Regions from separate parts of the Homo sapiens genome. Here regions 2 and 3 are each linked to region 1. The links are contacts of gene promoters, found by promoter capture Hi-C in blood cells and fetal thymus (Javierre and others, 2016). All regions are on one chromosome and are shown on one strand. The core of a region is centred on a gene start or on the middle of the fragment in contact, and the rest is flanking DNA. Distances in the headings are between cores, read along the strand shown.

Region 1 (4,099 bases), core at 1,124-3,623:
CTCTTCCTGTTTGGTTTACTCAAGCGCCTGCCCCAACGCCTTCTCAGTCAAGCTGGGAGGAAACTGCTTCAGCTTGAAAAGGATGCGGGCAAAAGCCCAGCCCGACTAGCTCAACCGCCGCGCCAGTGCCCGCCTCCTCTTCCTTAACGCCTAGGGCTGCGCCCACCAGCCGGCAACGTCCAGGAAAGGGCCACAGGAGAAATGACACCCGTGCAATGCGGAGTGTCCCGGCTCCGCTTCCCCGCAGGGACTCGAGGTGCGCTCCTTTTCCTGGCCACGGTTTAGGGAGGCTCGGAGATGGACACCTCGGCAGTATCTGGCGACCCTCTTCTCACTCGCTCCGCCCACTCCTGCTCTCCAGGGTCCCAGCCAAGGGCCCGAACCCTCGGAGTCCTAGTGAGCCTTGGCCGCTTTGTCTGGGATCAGGCTTATCCTCCTAGCCCACGGCCCGGGAGGGAACAAAGAGCCTCGACCCTCAAGCTCTAGCCTCTGCCTCTCATCGGAGCCCCATGCGCCCATTCATCACCTTTCTAAAGACCCCTTTGTCTGCCTGGCAAGCACAGGTCTGCAAGGGATGCCCACGCCCCTGCCCAAAGTCCTGCTTTTCTAACAACTGAGCTAGATTGGATTTTCAAGCCACCCAGTCTTGTGTAAACGACCTCATACCGGTCTTTTTTACCCCCTCAGAATAGACCATGTATAGATTCGTTGATGCATGACGACCATTCCAGCCCATTCCTTGCTAGCTTTTTCATTCTCTTCCAGTCCGCTTTGACTGTGCTACTGTTTTCCTGGTTTTCTACAGAATAGCAAGTCCTTCTGTAAGGATCAACCTGCATCTTGCTCGCTTAAATAAATGCTTATTACCTAGGGAGCAGGAATATTAAGAAATGGAGTGCAGGAAGTTTAAGAGCATGTGTGTGTGTTAGCAGTCCCATCTCTCTCTCTCTCACACACACATACACACACACGCAAGGGCTGTTTTCTTTGTTTTAATCAATGTCAGAGAAAAATATAAACTGGGCAGGCATCTCTGCTGGTGTGTAGTTTCTGATAGAGGACGCCTCCAAACCGGAACAGGGAGGATTTCCGAAACAGGACTTTGAATAGAGTTGACAATCAGGTTCACATCCTCAGAAAAAGCCTTCCAAGCTATGTCAGCAACACAAAGTTGCACCACCTCCTGGGTAAACTTCAAAGACACAGAGGCCAGCGGGTGGAAGGAAGTGTGATATTTAGAGAACTTAGTGGGGCGGGGGAGAGTCTGAACTCATCTAGACAAACTAAAAAAAATAGCAGAAATATAGTCTGTGTGAAGCTACAGTACCCAGTTTCTTTCTAAAACTGTAACCATGACGCCCATGCGTTTTAGCCGTAGAAGAACAAATAAGGAAGTATCCTTAGTGGTACTGGAGTTTCTAATTCAAATTATAACACATTAATCTATCCAACGTCAAATAGAAAAAAAAAAAGTAGAGAAACAGAGTATACCTATTTCCTGCTTTCTAAGCTTTAACTTCAGCCCTTCGAGAAACCATCTATCTCCAGTATCTCCTTAGGTGATAGGACATTGAAAACAGGCAACCGTTTGGTGAATAAAGACATTTCTCTTGAGTTCTGCCCACAGATTAAAAGGACAAGGACACACGTTCTTTGTTGACACTTCTGCAGTGACTTCTCCTTTGGCGAGAGAGCACCCAGGGCCAACACAACTGTCACCACAACCACACAGAGCAAGTTGAACTCATACTGGGAACAGCTTAGAGAAGCACGCACATCTCAACAACAGCCTTTGTTATTTAATTCATGACACTAACCACGCGCAAGCTCAAACAAACACACATGCTATCCTAACCATCACTCTACCCTCTATATTCACATTTCATTTATGGCTTGACTTTTTGTCATATCCTGAAATGAAGCTTTGCATTTACCCGATGAGTTGCGTCTCCTGGTGCTCCTCAGTTCTTGCTATTTCTTTTGTCTTATAAAAGATCAGGAGCAGACTTATTGTGCAGATCGTCCACCTCTTCCTAATGGAGCGCATCTTGGGTGCCCGAGAAAGTCCTGGTTGCCCCAGCTCCCGCACCTTCTCTTGATATAAAGGCTCCGTTTTGGGGAGATAGTCGCGGGGGTGAAATCTGTAAAATGCGAGGAGAGCTTGGAGCCGGGATCCCGGGATCAGATCACTGGGGTCTTCTGTGGCCGAGCTCCCTCTGGTCCTCGAACGCTGCCCAGCGACCTCTCGCCCTGTTTGCGCCAGCTCTGCCAGGGTCGCTCCGCGCCGCCTCCCTGGGGCTCAGGTTTCTTTTCAGATGAGACACCTTGTGCATTGGAGGTGGCGGCAGCTTCTGCAGCTGGGTTCGGGGGCGTCACTGGCCCTTCCCTCTTGCTAGGAGATAAACGCTGCGCAAAGCCAATCACCAGGCTGAGGGGGCGGAGGCTGCTTGGAGAGTAACGTCCCCGGCTCTGCCTGCTCTGTGCCGGGAGAGGAAGCTCACAGTGCTACGCGCCTGCGAGCTCGCGCACATACACATATACATACATACACACATACATACATATGCACACACACGTACACGCAGAATCACACACACTCTCCTGGGACATCAAAGCATCAGCTCTCTGGACCTGGGAGCTCCAAGATAGTCTATCCGCATCTAGGTGAGAGGGCACCTCGCCTGGGGACAGATTACAAAAGCGTCCCGCCAGAGGAATGCTTCAGGTAGAGCTAGGGGTGGATTGCAAGAAGAGTACCTTCTTTCAATCGCTTTTGCTAAACACACACCCTCACACGCAAAAACACGCCCTCCAAGGTGGAGTGAAACGGGGTGCGGGGGTGGGGACGGCGGTGGAAGGAAGAAGACTTTTATTACTCAATCTGGAAAGTGCAAATACACACATGAACCTGTTAGCCGATGGGCCCACTCTGCATGGGTGGTGGACGACGACCCTGGCTCAGGATTCTGCAGGAAACAAGTGATGATAGAGGTGTCATTAGGAACTTTATGGATATTTATGCGCCTCCCTTTCATTGCCATTTGGAAACTCCTCACGCAGAAGTCAAGGAAACTCCAATCCCACTTAAACTTCATTGCGGAGAAACAGAGTTCTGAAAAAAAAGCAGCTACCATGGACCTCTCTTTTAAACGCAAGTACACCCACACACATTCGGATACCAAGGAAGGAAGGAAAGAAAGAAAGGAAAGAAAAGGGAGGGGAGGAAGGAAGAGCAAAGTCCTCTCTAAAAGTCTCAATTATATATATAGCCTCTGATTGTCACCTCTCCTCCGTCCCACCATTTTTCGTACTTGTATTGGGTGGCAGGGACACTTTTCAAGAGTTCTGTGTTCGATTGTTCACTCTGAGTACCTCTCCACCATCCTCCAGTCGTTGCCCTCATTGGGAGAGATGCTTGCTACTCTGCTAGTACCACGCCTTGGTTCCGGTCTTTACTGTTGGCTGGTAGGTCGGGAGGCACCTCTAGCATGAGACAGTGTCTGGAAGCCAGGATTTCCCTCATCTATATGCGCCGGTCCCCAGCTCCCTGGTCGCCAGGGTTTCTCTCCAGTTGAATTCCGTGTTCCTTCAGGTTGAACAGTAGCTTCAGCGGTTTTTCACGCTCAGAAATGATGAGGCCCAATTCCAATCTTCCCTCCCGCCGGAAGTAAGAAGGGGAATTCTGAGTTGCTTGTCGCCTGACAGCTTAAAATAGCAACGAAAACAGCCAGCATCTTTGCTTAAAAACCCAAGGTTCCCGCCAGTGTTTACCATACTTCCTCTAGAGTTTAAGAAGTTAAGAACTTCCGAGATCTTGAATTTCCTCTTTGCAGCACAGCGAACGGGGTCGGGTATAAAAATGCTCCAAGGAGCAAGTAATTACGAACGTTTATTGACACTACAAGTGGCCCACAGGGAGCCTTTCGAGTTTATTGATGTCTAGGCAAATCCAGCCTGCATTAATGCATTTCTGTTAGATTGACTTCTGTTAGACTCACTTTTCTTCTGGCAAAAACTGCCAGAATAAAACAGCTTCTTATTTAAGTTAAAAGGGATCCGGGGCTGAGGGCAGGGGTCGGGTGGGAGAGGGATGCATGGT
Region 2 (4,099 bases), core at 468-2,967, 6.3 Mb before region 1:
AAATAATGATACTGTTATGTTTACTTATAAAGGTATAGAGCACAGTAAAAAGAGCCAAAATTTAGAGTCAGGTAGACTGGATTCAAATTTTAATTGTGCCATTTAATTGTATAATTTATGGAAAATCACAACCTCTTTGGGTCTCAGTATAAAATGTTTTGCAAAATAGAAATAATACAATTTTTGTGATTTTCTTTTTTTATTAAACATTAAATAAAATAATAAATGTAAAGTGCCTGGCAGACAGTATCTACTTGGGGTAAGTATTAATGATTGGCTACATTCAAGAGCAATTCAAAGAGAGAAATCACTGCCTCTAAAAACTAGTTGCTGTACAGATATAATACATAATATCCCTGAAGTAATTTATAATACTTTCAACTGGAGAAATAAAGAAAAAATACAAGATTCAACAAAATGTCAAGATTGGGATTAATGGGGCGATTATAAGTTTGTTGAATTATTAACCAACAAGGCCAGAAAATCAATGTGCTGTCCTAAATATGGTTTGTTGCATTACTCTCAAAAGGTTAAGAAGACACTGGCCTGGTGTTAACAGGGGCCTTGAATTGAACATATTGCATTTTTCTTTATCGGTATGCTCCGATAAAGAAAATGTTTTTATGGGTATGAGGAGCATACCCATAAAAAAAATGCAATAGTACCTACAACTCTTTCGGGAACTGACTGTTTTGAAAAAATAACAGTCAGCTGCCTTTTACGGGGGTTGGTGGGGAGGTAATTATCTAAATATAAGGTGGCAAGTGAAAACTAGTTACCTAAGAAATTGCATTACTTAAGAGAAGTCGCCAAGGTTCACTACATCACATCTTTCAAATCTTAAATGAGCACCTTTCCTCACATTATCCCTTTGTCGGAAGCAATTTCTCTTTACAACTATTCTGGCTACCTCAGACCTCCATCCAAAATTCTCCTGAATCCTTCATTATCGACAAAGCCTGGAGCAGAACGCAAGCATTCCTTTCTGAAAGCACACATACTTACTGATCACTGCTTTCCAAAAATGCATCTAATGCCCAAGCATGAAATTACAAGCTTGTTCTCTTATGTCTCAGCCATGAAAACAAAGACCGTTCTTCTCATCCAATTCAAATGGCGGGAGGAACCTTCAATTAATTCTAAATCAGGAAGGAACCTCCCCATCTCACTTCCTAAATGTTTGTAAAAGATGTCTTCTTCAGCCAACCTCCTGCCTTCCAGGCACGGCACCCCAGAACTACGGAAACAGTACTCAGGAATCAAGAGTGGCCAAACGCTGCCAATGGGAGATAGGAAACTCGTTGATCATTGGTAGAGAAACTCGGCACAACGCCGAGTCACGGTACACGGTGTCTTCGGCCTCGCCCAGGGACACTTGGTGACCCGAGGTCGAGTTCCAAGTCGGAGACAGATTTTGCGAGTGGATAAGACGGTAAGCCGGGATCCCAGGGCCTTCTCCAGCTGCACTGGGTGTCAAGCGCCACGGGGTTTGATGGGGACTCCTTCTGGTTCCACCCTCGCCCACTCACTTCTCGGGCTGGCCATAATGCTGCACAGAGCCCCGGCCAGCCATTAATATCAGGCGCAGGAGAAAACCCAGTAAAATCACTTACCAGTCTTCCACCTCCGGTGCTGATCTAGCAAGAGCCTGACCCGCTGGCCAGACTCAAGCTCTGCACCAGGTATTACCACCCTGGCGACGGCTCCGGAGCGTCACTGACAACCACCCGGAAATGGTACTATCGCTTCCGGGGCTGCCTAGCGCGCGGCGGGAAATTGTTTCCCAGAGCCCGGATTCGTGAAGCAGTTGAGTGCTGCAGCGGCAGTCGTCGCCCCTGCCGCCGCTGCCACCGAAGGAAGCATCCCAGACACCGGGAAGGTAAAGGGGCTCAGCTAGGAAGACACAGTGTATTCTGTCTCTGTGGGGATGTTTCTTCGCCGGGCGGTACCTCCGAAGTTTCTGCCTCCCGGCTGTGAGGCTAGGAAGGAAGCGGCTGGGGTGAGCGGCAGCGGTGTCTGGCTCTCGCGCTTTCTCCAGCTGCAGTTCGTTCCAGCTCTCCCGACTTCGCGCTCGGCGCCGGAGTTGGTGGGCTGCAGCTGCAGACCCCGCGACGCTTCGCCCGTGCCGCTGCGGGGACTGCCACCGAGCGCCCCTCTGCAGTACTGGGCTGAGCCACTTCCCCCGCTTCTGCTTGCGCAGCTCTGCCGCTCGGCCCGCCGCCTGGAAGGCGCTAGGCCCCCCGCGTCTCTCGTTTCCATAGAACCCATGGGGACGCCTCATCCTGATACCAGAATTTTGGCTGCTTTCCATAACTTAGCGTCTGCGAAGGTGGCTGGGATACCCCAGGCCCACTTTCCTGTGACGAAGAAAATTGTGTCATTCTTTCCTCTCTAGTAGAATTTTTTTTTTTTAAACTGCTAAAACGGCAGTGATCCTATCTCTGACTGCTATAGGCCTTTAAACACAAACATACACACATACACTTTTCGCTGAAGGGAGGGTCTGTGTTCCTGGGGTTTATATTTCAGCTGCCTGAAGGCTGGAAACAAGACTGAGTGGCTATTTTAAGATTTCTTCCACTTCCAAAGCCTCAGATTAAATATTGACAAAAAAAAAATTGGTCCGTCTCGGGTACTTCATATCATTATTTGACTCAGGAGTTAGATGGAGCTTGATTTTGGAGGCGCCAGCCTCTTTTTTGACGAATGACTTTATTAAAAAATTTTGTTGTTGTTGTTGAAATATTGGGAATGAACATTTGAACTGAATTTACAATGTATGTGTGACAGACAATGCACCTTGTGGACTTTTTGGTTTATGTTATTCCGTTGTGCCTCAATTCTTGGAAATACCTGTGGATGTGCAAGATGTTCTCATTATTGGAAAGTTTGATTACGTATATTGCAGGTGTTCAATACCTAAGTTGCTAGTATGAGGTGAATTTATATTAAAGAGTATATTTCTTTATTTTCTTTTCTTACCTTTCCTTCCTTCCTTTGCTTTCTTTCTTTCTTTGACAGAGCCTTGCTCTGTTGCCCAGGCTGGAGTGCAGTGCCTATCGGCTCACTGCAACCTCCGGCTCCCAGGTTCAAGCAATTCTCCTATCTCAGCCTCCCGAGTAGCTGGGATTACAGGTGCGCGACACCACGCCCGACTAATGTTTTGTATTTTTAATAGAGACAGGGTTTCACCATGCTGTCCAGGCTGGTCTCGAACTCCTGATCTCAAGTGTTCCGCTCGCCTCGGCCTCCCAAAGTGCTGGGATTACAGGCGTGAGCCACCGGGTAACTCTTGAGTATTCTTAATTTAAAGGAACTAGGATGTTCAAATACTTGAATGTTTAAGTCAATTTTATTGTAAAGACAGCGAACCTTCAGTACTGCAAATAAACCCCTATTCTGTTTTCTAAATCCAGATTTTATTATGCGTTATTAAGTAAAATTGAATTATATAACCTAACATTTTCTTGCTTCCCTAAAGCATAAAGCGTGGATCACGTGAAAGTCATTGAAAAGATGATCAAATGTGGTTACTTTTCATAATCAAAATTCAGAACTGAAGATTTCGTAATAAGCATCCACATTTTCCACTGATGTTCAAAAACATTGCGTTTTGGGAAACCAATAGTATAGCTTTTATTTATTAGTACTTTCCTTATTATATGTATCTTGATTATATTACCCTAAAGTAGGGTTTTCACCATTTAAATAAAACTTTTTTAGAAAGTAAAATAAAAAATTCTGTGTTGGCTTTGAATAATAAACCCTAAACAAAACGAATTCTCTCAAGAATGTAACTAAAATGAGACATCATCTGTTACTCTTGTAGTTGACTCTTTGAATATACTAATAGAAAATATATCTGTATAATGTACTATGTACTGTTTTTCACCTTATAAGGGCATGTTACTGCTTAAAAGTAAAATAACCCTGGAACTTTTAAGTTCACTTAATTCATACTTTCTATCAAAATTACTTTGAAATTTAAAATACACTGTCTGGTTATTTTTGAGGAGGAAGAAAGACTTTCTCATATGAATCACTCTAATGATTGATACCAAATCACTTTTGAGAGGAAAATAATGAAAACTTTGTTTCT
Region 3 (4,099 bases), core at 420-2,919, 5.1 Mb before region 1:
TGCACCATTGCACTCCAGCCTGGGTGACAAGAATGAAACTGTCTCAAAACAAACGAACAAACAAAACTAATGCTTGGCTCCCACCTCTGACATTGTGATTTAGTTATTGAGGGGCATAATTTGGGCATAAGGATTGTTTTAAAAGCTCTCTAGGTGATCCTAATGTGCAGCAAAGTTTGGGAACCAATGGCTAAAAGGTCCTCAGGGTGGCAGCCACAGTGGGGCCCGTAGTAGTGTTTGCACTGCCCTTTACACCTCTCAGGGCCTGGGCATCCTATGCAGCTGGTGGTCCCACTAGGCAGCAAGAGCTTCTCTCGTCATTGTGTATACTCCAGGACCTCAGCACACAGCAGTAGGATAACACACTAAGCCCCCTTTCTGCACCAAAATGCTGACTTCTTATTAGAGAGAAGGGGAGAGAAACAACCTCCAATGCTTTATACTCAGAACCCAGAGACAACCTTGTAAGTCAAACTAAAACTGAAATAGGATATGTGCTTGGCCTAACACTGTGCTGTAGAATTCGTGCATCGTAAAAGAGAACTTAGCTGAGCTGGTGGGACATTTCTCATCCCACCTCACAGCAGAACTGATACAGGTGATGTGGCTGGCATCCCTCCTGAAGCCCAGGACGCAAAGCCAAGGATGCTGAAGAGAGGGAAGTCTTTCGGATGGAGGAGAGCAATTTTTAGAGGGTCCCACAGTCTATTCGTAGCAAATGGGACTCTGAGGTCACCTAATCTGGTCTTGCAGCTGGGATCTTTGAGGACTACTGGGGTGGTGACTTGCCCAGGATCACACAGCCAGCCATTATAAGAGCCAGGCCAGAACTCCAGGCTATGATTCCCTACAATGTGGGGCCTGGAAACATCCATAATTAATTTAGAACAAGGGGCAGATAACGGTACATTAGATTTTTCCAGTGGGAGGAATTAGATAAGGAAGAATGAGCAAATTAGAAAAAGAAAGCCTAGAGAAAAGAATGAAGAACATGAATCTCATGTTAAATAACAAACACATCACACCCGGCCCTCCACCCCAGCTTCCACCTCCAGCCCTGCCAACTGAAAACTGTCATTTCCTGGCAGTGCTTAAAACAAAGACTCTAGATAATTCCCCAGGGACTCACCGGCAAGCTGCTGGTCCCACTTACCCTGCCGCACAGCAGACATCAGCTGTACTCCCTCTTCTGCCCCGTGAAGACCTTTGGCTGCAGTGCCGCCGCTCATTCAAGTGACCGAGATCCTCTCTAAGGCGCCCTCCCCCACACCCCCCGCCCCGCACAGCCCTCTGGACGCCTTGAAGTACGGAGCCGCAGCCTTATCCTAAAGAAAGGCACAGCTCTGACAAGAAAAGGCAATCCGGGAGCCTTTCCCTAGCCGTTTAAAATGAAACTCACCGTTCTTGCTCCCGTGAGCTGTTGCAAATAATCTTGAATCTCGTTAGTGTGGTTGGTGGCTGTGATATCGACAAATTCCAGAAGCCCTTGTTTGATGGGCAATTGACTGAGGATCTCTTGGGCCCTCCTGCAGTACGGGCAGGTGGGCTTGATGAACACAACCACCTTCCCAGGCTGGATTTTGCAGTTCACAAACTCTTGAGCCATGCCGATGGGCTGCGGTCTCCCCGGGAAGAATCCTCAGTTGCAGGTATTGCTTGGGGTATTGAGCCCCGACCCAGCCAGTTGGCTCCTATTTAATAAGGAACCTCCCTGGAGGCGGAGTTTGCCTGGTAGCTTGCTCGAGTTTTAAAGGGACAGCTTCGAAGACATTTCCATCTGGTATACTTCACTAGTTAGCAATGCCCAGGAATGCAATACTTGCTATTTAATCATTGGTAGCTATGAAAGACACTCTGGGTATCTTTGTTGTCCTTGGACATTTGGGGAGTGCCTGCCCATTGGCAATGATCAGAGTTTAGTCACCTCTGGGGAAGCATAAAGTGCTTACTCACAAAGGGGCTGAGGAGGCAGTGACTTCTTAGAGCAAATTCTTGTTTTCCCTCTAGGAGATACAGTTGTATTTTAAAATGCAAACAGAATCACTTAAGAAACAGAACACTTGGAAATCTCTTTAGAAGAAGTGAAATTGAAACTGTGACTTTGCACTCCTCATGAAGGTTGCTCTCACAGCATTTTGCTTGGACTGTATGGTGGGTGTTTGTTGTTGTGATCTTTTTAATGGAATTCATTCTCAGTATTTAAAAATCTGGAGGTCTCACAAAACAATTCGGACTTAAAACTTCTCTCTGAAAAGTCAGGTCGGGCAATACAGAGCTTGCACCTTTTAGTGGAAGCTGCTGGGGCTGACAGCTGTTGCCCCCTTTGTATAGGGCAAGTAGTGGCTTTGGTTTGCCACAGGTCCCAACGACAGGCCCATGCCTGAGACACCGGCTTCACCCCATAACCATTTGAGTTGGTAACCCTTGAACAGCAGTTTAATATGGAGGCAAATTCCAACACAATCCTTGATACAAAACTACAGATGAAATGAGAATCTTTTTTTCTGGTTGAGCCTATGTTTGTGACCCTCTGCTTTTAACTGTTTGTGAGGGGAAGTAGTGTTGTAACTCAGACACCACATTCACTTCAAGTGTTATAAGACACGGGTTGTAACAGTAGGAAATCTTTCGCTCTTCCCCAGGGTGCCCATTCTCCTTATCCCGCAAAGCAAAGTCCTCTACTCCTGGGTCTAGTTCCGGCCCCCTCTAGTGTATGGTAGCTTAAATAAACAAATCAAGGAAAAACTATGTCCTTTAAACGTGAATCATCCTTTCCCCAGGAAGTTTTATGGTGAAACCAGAGTATCTTCAAAGAGGCGGGGCCAAGGCCAGAGCTGGACACCACGACTGCCACGTAAGAGGAATCCCAAGCATACTGCGATCAAGGGAAGGGAAGAAAATCCACTCCCAGAAGCAGCTTTTTACTGTGACTCTCATCGTTACTAGAATTAAAATGGCAAAATGAGAAAGCCAGATTCTGAGTCACGGAGGGGGAGCTAAGTGACAGCTCTGTCCAGAGAAAAGGATGTGGCAGGGCTGGGAGGCCCCTCACGTGGTCAGGGCTCCGGACTTCCCACTTCCCACTTCCCTCCAAAGTAGGCTCTGCCACAGAGTCTGAGCCTCCTCTCTTTTTTCATTCTTTTACCTCAGAACCCTGTGGCCAGGCTCCTTCCAGAGGCCCCTGCCAGGAGGTCCAGGGTCTGTTTCAGGGCCCTCAGGCTGTTGCCTTAAGTTCCCTCAGCCTGAGGTTTATCCACACGACTTGCACCTGCTACTCACTCAGAGCCTTTCTCTTCTCCGGTCTGTTGTTGGCTCCTCCCTTCCTGGTGCCTCAGCCTGCCACTGTGTTCAAGTTAAAAGCCACCACCACCACCACCACTCCCCATTTCCTGCTTTCCTGCCTCTGCCCTTTCATGAAATTTACTGTCTGTACCTTTCTCACCTCCATTCTCTCATTTTGTTGTTATCTGACCTTGTCAACCATTCTGCTGAATTGTTGGCAGACACTAATCATGGCCTCTATGTCACCAAATGACCATTTAGCTAGGTATCCTGACCTTTTGCAAATTAGTCACCTGCCCCAAGAGGCTGGGATCCAGGGAGACTATTGTCTGCCTCTCACTCAGTCCCGGGGACTGCCTGGTGTCTGAAGCCTTAGGACAGATGGCCATAAGGCACAAGCTAAAGGCAATTTTTTTGTGAGGCACCATGTGGAAAATGGGAGACAAAGAGATGGCAAAGAACGGGTGTCCTCTCCATTTCTCAGAAAATGCTGTGGCTTCAACTCAGTGAAAAATGACAAGCATAGAAGCCTCTGCTGCATTGTACAGCAGGAGCTGAAACCCAGCATGGACCTTAGGGCATCTCAATGGAAAGCCGCCATGGGGACTGCAGATGCGTCAAGTGCTGTGGATGGAAAGAGGGTGTGCGTGTGGACTAACACGTGTGGACTCTCCTTTGGCTTGTGTGAGACACTCCCAGGCACTCTCAGAAAATACACCTTGGAGGGTGGGAAGTGAGGGCATTTTTTAGGGGAGAATCAGTCCTGCTTTACAGATGGTTGGCAACAAGCTAGTGAAATATGTGTGGTTACTCTTTT

What was found. Contacts are between HindIII fragments. The CHiCAGO score rates a contact against its expected background, and 5 or more counts as called.
Region 2: the fragment with the promoter of KIAA0825 here is called in contact with the fragment with the promoter of ST8SIA4 in region 1 in 1 of 17 cell types (naive CD8 T cells); the score reaches 7.9 in naive CD8 T cells.
Region 3: a contact is called between the fragment with the promoter of GLRX here and the fragment with the promoter of ST8SIA4 in region 1, in 3 of 17 cell types (non-activated CD4 T cells, naive CD8 T cells and total B cells). The highest score is 9.5, in non-activated CD4 T cells.

Annotation. Positions count from the first base shown.
Region 1 is chr5:100,900,909-100,905,007 of GRCh38, forward strand. It overlaps ST8SIA4 (ST8 alpha-N-acetyl-neuraminide alpha-2,8-sialyltransferase 4), which reads right to left and starts at 2,374. Exons shown (of 5, transcript NM_005668.6): 1 at 1,935-2,374. The coding sequence starts at 2,047. It overlaps LOC107986437 (a long non-coding RNA gene), which reads left to right and starts at 2,500. Exons shown (of 2, transcript XR_001742825.3): 1 at 2,500-4,099. RefSeq lists enhancers at 1-324, 1,462-2,031, 2,517-2,756, 3,537-3,776. The HindIII fragment of the contact is 2,860 bases long and covers 1,921-4,099 here.
Region 2 is chr5:94,616,887-94,620,985 of GRCh38, forward strand. It overlaps KIAA0825, which reads right to left and starts at 1,718. Exons shown (of 21, transcript NM_001145678.3): 1 at 1,614-1,718. It overlaps SLF1 (SMC5/6 complex localization factor 1), which reads left to right and starts at 1,783. Exons shown (of 21, transcript NM_032290.4): 1 at 1,783-1,879. RefSeq lists enhancers at 732-1,596, 1,335-1,514, 1,825-2,004, 2,395-2,504. The HindIII fragment of the contact is 3,766 bases long and covers 1,055-4,099 here.
Region 3 is chr5:95,821,057-95,825,155 of GRCh38, forward strand. It overlaps GLRX (glutaredoxin), which reads right to left and starts at 1,670. Exons shown (of 3, transcript NM_001118890.2): 1 at 1,400-1,670. The coding sequence starts at 1,606. RefSeq lists enhancers at 42-181, 2,098-2,187, 2,418-2,918. The HindIII fragment of the contact is 7,969 bases long and covers 1-4,099 here.